Linked DNA regions of Homo sapiens: all the other regions are linked to region 3. The links are contacts of gene promoters, found by promoter capture Hi-C in human tissues and cell types (Jung and others, 2019). All regions are on one chromosome and are shown on one strand. Each heading gives the region's core, a stretch centred on a gene start or on the middle of the fragment in contact. The rest is flanking DNA. Distances are from core to core; before and after follow the strand shown. Region 1 overlaps LARGE1 (LARGE xylosyl- and glucuronyltransferase 1). Region 2 overlaps LARGE1 (LARGE xylosyl- and glucuronyltransferase 1). Region 3 holds the start of HMGXB4 (HMG-box containing 4).

Region 1 (3,523 bases), core at 397-2,896, 1.5 Mb after region 3:
GTTCACCCGTTACTCATCGAGTGACTTTATGAGTTGTGTAACATCTGAATACTTCAGTTTTCTAATTCATAAAATGGATGGCTAATTTAAGTGGGGTGTGTGTGTATATATATACACATATATACGTATATATACACATATGCACATATACACATGCATATATACACATATGTATGTATACACATATATGTATATACACATATGTATGTATACACATATATGTATATACACATATGTATGTATACACATATATGTATATACACATATGTATGTATACACATATATGCATATACACATATGTATGTATACACATGTATATACACATATGTATGTATACACATATATCTATATACACATGTATGTATACACATATATGTATATACACATATGTATGTATACACATATATGTATATACACGTACACATATGTATGTATACACATGTATATACCCATGTACACATGTATACACGTGTATATACATATATGTATATACACACACATATAATATACAGTATATATACTGTACAAATATAGTATAAATACGTACAAATATAAACTGTCTATGTGTGTATATTATACATATATGTGTATATACATATGTGTATGTGTGTATGTATACTATATGGTATACATACTGTATGAATATATGGTATATATATTGTTTATGTACAAATATAAACTCTGTATGTGTGTATATAAATAAAATAAAGATTCATTTTGTGCATATTAGTACCTGTGACTGTCTCCTGAAAGCAGAACAGACTTCTTTGAGGGTAGAATGCCACTTTTATTCTAACTTTTCAATACATTATTGATCTTGCACCGGAGCACCTAAACTCTGAACTGGTTTAAAAAGTGAATTAGGGCACTAGAAATCCTTACCTTCCATTTTTGTTCCCTCAAATTTAAGCGAGAAGTTAGTAGTTCTTTAGTTAACTTCCAGGAGCTCCCACGCTATACACAGGCCATATGGTGACAAATAGACATTCTGGAGTCAGATTGCTGGGTTTATATTTTTGTTCCATCATTTACTGGCTTGTGACTTCGAGCAAATTGCTTTATTTCCTCTTCTATACATTGGGGATAGTATTAACTAATTTACAGGGTTGGATTTTAGTAAGACAACGTATGTGAAGCACTCATGTATGTAGAGCTTGGCATTGCAGAAAGATACTGCTCAGTATATGATAGAAAATACTACTGCAAGTCGTAATGTTATTGGTTTATTCATTAGCAGAAAGCAATTGTTGCAGTTGTTAAACAAAACGAAACGAAAAGCCATTCTAATTAAGCAGAGTCTAGTGAGAGCTCAGAGGAGTCTGAGTTGGTTTTACCAAAGAGGAGGTCTCTGAAGGATGGATTGGAGGTAATCTTGGATCTGCCATGCACTAAAAGGGGAAAAAGAAAAAAGAAAGAGAGAGATTGTCTTAGTGATTTGGAACTGATTGGCCTTACCAACTTGGAAGCTCCTTTTAAACACATAGGTCCTTTTTAGAGCCCATTGAGGAAAGACCACTCTAATCTCCCTCTACCGCCCACTACTTCCACTACTTCCAGTAGAGCCTGGTGGTCAATAACCACCAGGGAAGTTAGAGCCCGTTCTGCAGCAGTGATTGTCAGAATCATGCAGTGGCACCAGCACTGCCATTCTCTTATCCTGCGACCATATCCTTGGCTGGGTTGCAAGCAATTTCTCATATGTAGTAGGCCACAATGGATACTTGTTTGATTAAATCAACAACAACAACAATAACAACAAAACACTGCTCTTCTGTCTGGAGAGTACTTTTAGTAGACACCTCTTCTTCCTTTCATGATAACTCTCCATACAAATTTGTGTTTTTTGAGATGGAGTTTCGCTCTGTTGCCCAGGCTGGAGTGAAATGGCATGATCTCAGCTCACTGCAACCTCCGCCTCCCAGGTTCAAGCGATTCTCCTGCCACAGCCTCCCAAGTAGCTGGGATTACAGGCACCCGCCACCATGCCCAGCTAATTTTTGCATTTTTAGTAGAGATGGGGTTTTGCCATGTTGGCCAGGCTGTTCTCGAACTCCTGACCTCAGGTGATCCACCGCCTCAGCCTCCCAAACAAATTTTTAAATATCTCAGCCTTCTAGTCCCTTTTCCCATGATTTGGCTATAATCTCAAACTGCTCTTGCAAATTTTTTTTTTTTCTGAAGAAACATAGTGCTCAAAGAGACTCTCATCACTCTGATGAGAGAGAAACAGATCCAGTGGATTAACGTGTTTTGCTAAGTGCTGTGATAGGAGACCTAGAAAACAAGCTTTTGGCCCTTTATATGATCTTGAGGGAATCTCCTGACCTTTTGGATACTTAGTCTTTTCGTCTGTAAATTGAGTACCATAGCATTTGTGTCACAGCATTACAATGCCAATTAAATCAGGCCGAAGCACTGTAGTGTATGGCCTGACACGCTACGGTCTGGAAATTTCTCAGGAAAAATAAGGGTGTGATGAGTGGAAGTGGAACACTCCCTCTCTCTCTCTCTTTTTTTTTTTTTTTAAACTTGATTTTGTTTTTTTGGAGACAGAGTCTCACTCTGTTGCCAGGCTGGAGTGCAGTGGCGTGATGTTGGCTCACTGCAACCTCCACCTCCCGGGTTCAAGTGATTCTTCTGCCTCAGCCTCCCGAGTAGCTGGGATTACAGGCACGCACCACCACGCCCAGCTAATTTTTGTATTTTTAGTAGAGACGGGGTTTCACCATGTTGGCCAGGATGGTCTTGATCTCCTGACCTCGTGATGCGCCCGCCTCGGCCTCCCAAAGTGCTGGGATTGCATGCATGAGCCACCGCGCCCAGCCCAATTTGATTCTTTATTTTGGTAGTAGCTAATCTATGTGATGAAGCCCTGACTCTTCATTGTTCTCGTGTCACTGATGTAAAACAACAACACATTTAAATGTGTGTTTAAAATGTACAATTCATATAATGTACAATTTAGTGGTTTTTAGTATTTTCACAAGGTTGTGTGATTGTCACAACGAATTCCAGAACATTTTCCTCACTCCCAAAAGAAACCCCATATGCATTATCAGTCACTGCCACTCTCCTCTTATTCTAGCTCCTGATAACCATGTTCTGTCTCTGTGGATTTGGACTGGGAGAGACATAAAGGATAGGGGCTACTCTCCCTCCCGTCTTAAATGCGTCTCAGTCATGAACCTTGCCATATTTTAGTGCTTTAAACATTTTTAAAAATAGTTGATTTGAGGAGGAGGAGGATAAAACAAACAGCAGAACCCAAAAAGAAGAACTCGGACTCCAGACTTAATTCTATCCTTTGCCCTCTGGCTAACTTTGGATATGCCAATTCTTTGTCTGAGCCTCATTTTCCCCATGCAGATAATTTACATTGTATTAGAGAACTACCTCCTCCCCAAGCTCTCTTTCAGGCTTAAATTCAGTGATCTTGAGTCTGTGTGTGTGTATATATATATATGTATATACACACACACACATTGATTTTCTTTTACCATGTGCTGGTTCTTTCAGTCTCTTG
Region 2 (3,428 bases), core at 58-2,557, 1.7 Mb after region 3:
ATACAAGGCATTGTGCTTATTTTTTTTTTTTTTTTTTTGAGACTGAGTTTCGCTTTTGTTGCCCAGGCTGGAGTGCAATGGTGCGATCTCTGCTCACCGCAACTTCCGCTTCCTAGGTTCAAGTGATTCTCCTGCCTCAGCCTCCCGAGTAGCTGGGATTACAGACATGCACCACCACACCCGGCTAATTTTGTATTTTTAGTAGAGATGGCATTTCTCCCTGTTGTTCAGGCTGGTCTCGAACTCCCAACCTCAGGGGATCCGCCCACCTCAGCCTCCTAAAGTTCTGGGATTACAGGCGTGAGCCACTGCGCCCAGCCAGGGCATTGTGCTTTGATTTTGTTGTTGTTCATTTAATTTGCCCTTGTGTTAACTGTATGACTCGGTTGTGTGAGGTTTTTCCTTCTAGGTCCTCTCTTGCCGTAACCCTCACTTTATGCTCCATGAGGCTGATGCATAAAGCATCTCTAGTCTCGCTTTCGCTCTGGTTTCCGTTAGGGTTGACTGGAGGGCTGCCCTCCCGGGAGACTGGTGGGCAGGAGGGAAGTGAGGTTGAGATGTTTTTTCCTGTTCTGGCTTATGCGTTGCCACAGGTAGGCTGTGTCCCTCTGCTGAAGGTCACTGCCTCAGCCAGGTGGCCTTACTCAAACAGCAATTCTCTCTGGATTCCAGCATCTGCTGGCCTGGGCCCTTTTGGCCTTGGGGTGGTAATGGCCCCAAGTACTCTTCCCCTCCTCAAGTAACTGCACGGTTCTTGTTACTGCCCCTAATTCTGCATATACTTAGATTAAATAGTCCTTTTATTAAATCTTCCTTAGATTCCCCAGGAGAGTGTGCTGTTTCCACCCACACACTGCCTGATAGGATGAAGTAAGTGTAGCAACATGGATGGAGCTGGAGGCCATTATCCTAAGTGAACTAACTCAGAAGCAGAAAATCAAATATCACATGTTCTCACTTACAGATGGAAGCTAAACAACGGGCATACCTGGATACAAAGCTGGAAATAATAGACACTGGGGTCTCCAAAAGAGGGGAGGGTGAGAGCTGTGTGAGGGGTGAGAAATTGCCTGCTGGATACAGTGTTCAACATTCAGGTGACAGGTATACTGGAAGTCCAGTCTCCACCATTACACAGTGTACCCATGTAACAAAAATGCGTGTGTACCCCCAGAATCTAAAATTAAAAATTTTTTAAAAAAGAAATCATGACCTTTATAAATAGCAGAAACTCAGAAAAGCTGAGCAAACCTGTCCAAGGTGACATGGCGATTAAGTGATGATACTAGAATCTAAATCCAGGCATGCCTGAATCTACCACCCAGGGTGTTTTGCTCTCCTGCATACATCCCACAGACCCTTACCTTCATCTGGAAGCACCAAAAGAGGCACTGATAGCTAAATACATGGAATAAGATAGAGGGATCAGGAAGAAGGGCGGGAGCTTATTACTGAGTATATTTTGTGTACCACGCCCTTGAGTCCTTTAATATAATTTAATTTTTATACCACTGTGTGAAGTAGGCATCGTCTCCATTTTACCAACTTTTAAAAATGAGCAACTACTCTTAAAAAAAAACTAAGTAACCACATTTTTTTCTAACATCATAGTCTAGTGATGGTGGCACACAGGAGGCCAATTTAGGGCAGCTATGAGACAGGTTCCCCATGCTGACTCATGAGACCCATTCCATCTCTGAAACACACTCCATTTTACAGGTAAAGAAACCAAGGCTTAGAGAGATCAAATGCTTTGTGTGGGGCTAGAGCCCAGATTTGAACTTCTGTCCTTTTTCCCCACCTCCATGATGCCTGGGTGTAGGGTGACAGGGACTCATACACAGAGTTGGGGATGCTTTTTTTGAAATTGATGAGAGGTGAAGCCAGCTGGACTTCCTGGGTCAAATGGGGACTTGGAGAACTTTTATGTCTAGCGAAAGGATTGTAAATGCATCAGTTAGCACTCTGTAAAAATGTACCATCAGTGCTCTGTGTCTAGCTAAAGGATTGTAAACACACACCAATCAGCACTTTATAAAATGGACCAATCAGCACTCTGTAAAATGACCAATCAGTGCTCTGTAAAATGGACCAATCAGCAGGATGTGGGCAGGGAGAAATAAGGGAATAAAAGCTGGCCACCCCAGCCAGCAGCGGCATCCCTCTCGGCTTCCCTTCCAAGCTGTGGAAGCTTTGTTCTTTCGCTCTTCACAGTAAATCTTGCTGCTGCTCACTCTTTGGGTCTGCGCCACCTTTAAGAGCTGTGATACTCACCACAAAGGTCCACAGCTTCACTCTTGAAGTCAGCGAGACCAAGAACCCCCCGGAAGGAGCCAGCTCCGCACACAGTTTGATGTCTTGCTGCTATTTTTTTCTTCCTTTGCATAGATTTGGGTGAATGTGTTTCATTTGGTTTGATTACACGTAGTTGTTTTTAAGTAAAAGCAGTTTTAAAGCTTGCTTTTTTCCCCTTTAACATCATATGCAGGTTTTTAGAAATTATATCTTGATCCACATTGTTTTAAACAATTACATAGTATGCTATCAGAAAAACAAGAGTATCATGTTTGAATTAATTGTTCCATTTTGGGGCATTTTGATGGCTGTTCTTTGGTAACATGGTGATGAACATCTTTGGGAATAAAACTTTGGTGTCTAAAACAAAATTTTTAAATTTGAATTTTTTTAAGAACATCTCCTCAACATGGTATTTGTAAGGTCAAAGGAGATCAATATTTTTTGGAATCCTGAGAAGGTGGCCATGTTCCCTGTTTTAAAGGGTTCTATTAAAAGTGTTACCCTCTTGAAAATAAGTGTGCTTTGGCTCCCATGGAAACTCCCCATGGCAGCTAGGTTGGGGCCTCTGCCCACAGTGATCTTCATAAATGACTGTGCATAGATGAGAGCTTTCATCACACTGGTGCTTTTATTTTTATCCTTGCCTTTGGACACAAAATGGCACCCGTGTGTGTACCTCGCTGATGACTCTGCCCACCTGCAAGCCATTGATTGTTCCATTATGTTATGTGAGGATCATAATGTCAGTGCTCCATGGGTGGTTCATTTCTGTCCTATGTGTGTGTCCTCTATTGCTGTCAGGTGAAGAGTGTCGCGTGATGACTAGGTCCTCCTTGACTAGGAGGTGAAGAGTGTCACGTGATGACTAGGTCCTCCTTCTGTCCTATGTGTGTGTCCTCTATTGCTGTCAGGTGAAGAGTGTCGCGTGATGACTAGGTCCTCTTATTTATCTGAGAATAAAGAGAAGGCAGCAGTAGTAATCTATTCAATTACAGTTTTAAAAGAATAAGCATAAGCTTTAACAATACTACTGCCCACTAATCTTTAATGACACGTAAATGGAATATGATTTAAAGAAATATACGTACATAGGAACAATTTGATACTGGTTGCAAAAGTATTTGTAGTGG
Region 3 (3,384 bases), core at 791-3,290:
ATTCCTTCCAGGTCTTGAATACAATCTGTGAAAATTCAGAGTTCAGGGGTAGAGAGTAGATTGTGAGGATTAATGAAAATGAATATTAGGTTTGATTTTCACATTAGAAAAGGGAGGTCATAATTACATTAAATGTTGGCAAATGTGAAACAGGTGTTAAAACCCAGTCTCAATTCAATAATTTGGGAGTTTATAAAATTCAATGTTGTCAACTCCAAGAGGCAAGAATAATTTTGTTTGTCTCAGTGTGCTAAGATATGACAACATAAGTAAAAGTTCACTATTTCATACTGTTGATACAAGTAAAAAACTGGTACCATAAAAATGTATACTTATGAAATGCACAAATTGTTAAATAGCTCTTCGGGGACTTTTCTTCAGGATATGAAAAAGGAGGGGGCAGAGTTGCTCTTTCCCTGGTAGATAAGCATACAAGTTATGTTCAGGCATAGGCCTTTGGGATGACCAAAGTAATCAGGAGGAAAAAGTCCTCAGATATAGCACTTTGTCATTTTGAAACTTCAAATTACAGTTAAAAAACAGGTTTCAGACTTTTTTTGAGGTAACTTGAGCTCCTGCAATCAACAACCTTCTTCACCCCATAATGTAAATGAGTATCGAAAAAAAGGAAACAAAGTAAGCCCCGTCACACGGACAGTAAGAGAAATTCTGAACTCCAGGTCTGTTCCAGGATGAGAGCCATGTCCAAGATTCTGCATTCTCTTCTTCCAACCACTCCTTTCAAGAACTCAAAATGCCAGTCAGTGCAGGTAAAGGAAGATGCACATCCGCCGGTTGCCAATTTCTGAAATTTTCTTGTTACTTCTACGATACAGACAAGTGATGCCTTCTCAACTTCGTCCAGGTTTCTTCCAATCTCCGAACACGGTGACTCCGAATCCTCTTGCCACTCCCTTCTCCAGGGACCTACCTAGGCAGCACTCCCAGCCCCTGCCAGCTCTGGAAGCTGCAGAGATCCCGACAGTCGGGGATGGGGATTGAATCCTCTCATTGCAGTGCAATTAAGCGGAACCACGACCACCGCACAGATTGGCTGACAACACACATTCCATAAGACCAGCAATCGAATTTTGAGAAGCCTTGTCCAATCAACAGGCTTTATTTGGGATTCAGTTTTTTACTTTGTTCTATTAGGAGGAAATATAATCAGCCACCAGCTTAGCCCTCCAAAAGAGGGGACAGAGATGTTTCTCCGCTTTTGCACGCTATAAAGTGAATCTACAAGTAGTAGTTGGTGGAGGGAAAATGGGCCTGCATGGAGAAGGCGCCCACCACGAAGGCACGGCCAAGCCGGGTTGCACGCAAGAAACACACAAAATACCAGGTGATTTACACAAACAGCCCCCAGGACCACCATTTTTGTGGTCCCCAAGGCAAACCAGTGGGATTCTCCCGGCAGTTTTGCGGCAACAGCTAGCTCAACAAAGCTCTGTGAAGAGGAAAAGAAGAAAGCTCCTCGTACTTTCTCCTGCCAGCCGCAGCCCCAGCCCTCCCGTGGCCGCGGCCACGAGCCCTTTCCCCCTGACAGCCCGAGGGACCCCCGCATCGCGGGTTCCGAGCCGCACAGCTCGACCTGAACCCGGGTTCCCGCGTCTCCGGCGGCCTCACGGCGCCCCCGAGGGCGGAGACGGCCCGGGCAGGGGGAGGGGCGGCCCGGGTCCGCAGGCCCCCGGGGCGGCCGCACGCCCCCTCCCGGCCCCGCAGCTTTCCCGCCTTCCCCGTTTGAACAGCTCCCGCCCGCCCTCCTCCTTCTGCCCGCTCCAGCCCCTTCCTGGGGGCGGCTGCGGCCGCTACTCCAGTCCCCGGCTCGGCCCCTGGGCTAGGCCGCGAAGGGCCTGGGGCACCCCAGAGGTGATGTCGCGGGCCCAGGGCGGCGGGTGGCGACGGGGCGGGGCTGCTGCCGCCTCAGGGTGGGGGCCCAGCCCGGTCTCCTGGGGTCTCCGCTCGCCGCTACCTTCACTCGGCTCGCCCGGATCCCGCCTCAACGCCGCCGATCGCCGCCATCTTGGAGAAGGAGAGAAAAGCGCGAGCGGCCAGGGAGCCTCAGTCGAGCCCAGAGCGCAGACTCGGGCTCCGGAGGGGGAATCCCGCTCGACCAAGAGCGCCGAGCGCATCGAATAAAACTCGGAGCCTGCTGAGCGCGGGAGCTGGCACTTATTTATTGAGAATTTGCTATGTCCCAGCCTTGCCCTAGAAGCTTACAAACATTATTTCACTTAATCCTCACTGTATTCCTGTCGCATTTTGCAGAAGAGAACCAGGCTGAGAGAAGTTAAGTGACGTGCCCAAGGATACACAGGTAGTTGGAATGTGAGACCGAGTATTACTCCAAGTCTTCTGATTCTGAATGCAGTGCTTTCCCCAAAATACTATGCTGTTTCTTTCAAGATATTGTTATACAGCAGTTCTCCTCTTTGCAACACCTAGATCTATGCAGATTAATAGCAGTGTGCTTATTTGGACTTCAGCATCTACATTTGAACATTTGGCATATTAGGGGTGAGGTGAAGAACTTATCTTTGTAACAATGTACAGTAAAATAATTTGCATGGCGAATCATCTACATTTTTTAGTTAGAAACAGTCTTCAGAGAGAGAGAGGAAGAGATGTCATATACAGGCGAGAACACAATTTTTCTGATTTGCCATTGAGAACTTCGACCAATGAGTAGAAATTACAGTGTATAGAACTTGGTTTGATATGAAGAAGAACGCCAGGGGCGGTGGCTCACGCCTGTAATCCCAGCACTTTGGGAGGCTGAGGTGGGTGGATCACCTGAGGTCAGGAGTTCGAGACCAGCCTGACCAATGTGGTGAAACCCCGTCTCTACTAAAAATACAAAAAATTAGCCAGGCGTGGTGGCGCGTGCCTGTAATCCCAGCTACTTAGGAGGCTGAGGCAGGAGAATCGCTTGAACCCGGGAGGCGGAGATTGCAGTGAGCCGAGATTGCGCCACTGCACTCCAGCCTGGGGGACAGAGTGAGACTCCATCTCAAAAAATATATATATATATGAAGAATAACTTATTTTTCTAGTACAGTTCAGTAGTACAATGGGCTTCCTTGTGAGTAGTGAGCTCCCTCCCACTGGAGGAGCGCTCAAGCAGAAGCTGGTGTTACTGTAAAGCAGAGAAGTTAGAGATGTAGATTGGCTTCTAGAGTTGTGAACCCCATGCAACGTAAAATCATGTGTGCAGTGTGTGTTTTCCTAGGGCCCAGGCCCCATAAAAAATTAAGAACCTCTGTCCTAGTGTATTTTCCATTGCAGAGTTGGGTGAGTGCTTGAAGACGAGGTAGTCATGAGACCAATAAAAGCAAGGTGATTTGTCTGAGACCACACTCTAATCAGTGATCAGATAAAGAT

Evidence for each region. The method cuts DNA at HindIII sites, captures the fragments that hold promoters and counts their contacts. A contact is called where the count stands out against the background at its distance.
Region 1: a contact is called between a fragment that was not itself captured here and the fragment with the promoter of HMGXB4 in region 3, in 1 of the 25 tissues and cell types used here (dorsolateral prefrontal cortex).
Region 2: a fragment that was not itself captured here is called in contact with the fragment with the promoter of HMGXB4 in region 3 in 1 of the 25 tissues and cell types used here (lymphoblastoid cells).

Annotation. Positions count from the first base shown.
Region 1 is chr22:33,781,887-33,785,409 of GRCh38, reverse strand. The region is part of intron 1 of LARGE1 (LARGE xylosyl- and glucuronyltransferase 1); the gene reads left to right. Among named protein-coding and RNA genes, the nearest start is that of LARGE-AS1, 59 kb to the right of the region's middle. RefSeq lists an enhancer at 2,222-2,722. The HindIII fragment of the contact is 3,854 bases long and covers 1-3,523 here.
Region 2 is chr22:33,565,377-33,568,804 of GRCh38, reverse strand. All of the region lies in intron 5 of LARGE1 (LARGE xylosyl- and glucuronyltransferase 1), which reads left to right. Among named protein-coding and RNA genes, the nearest start is that of MIR4764, 130 kb to the right of the region's middle. RefSeq lists an enhancer at 2,776-2,845. The HindIII fragment of the contact is 6,389 bases long and covers 1-3,428 here.
Region 3 is chr22:35,256,149-35,259,532 of GRCh38, reverse strand. It overlaps HMGXB4 (HMG-box containing 4), which reads right to left and starts at 2,040. Exons shown (of 11, transcript NM_001003681.3): 1 at 1,976-2,040. It overlaps LOC105373017 (a long non-coding RNA gene), which reads left to right. Exons shown (of 4, transcript XR_938210.3): 1 at 1-1,345; 2 at 2,272-2,320. RefSeq lists a silencer at 1,481-1,980 and an enhancer at 2,246-2,746. The HindIII fragment of the contact is 11,453 bases long and covers 1-3,089 here.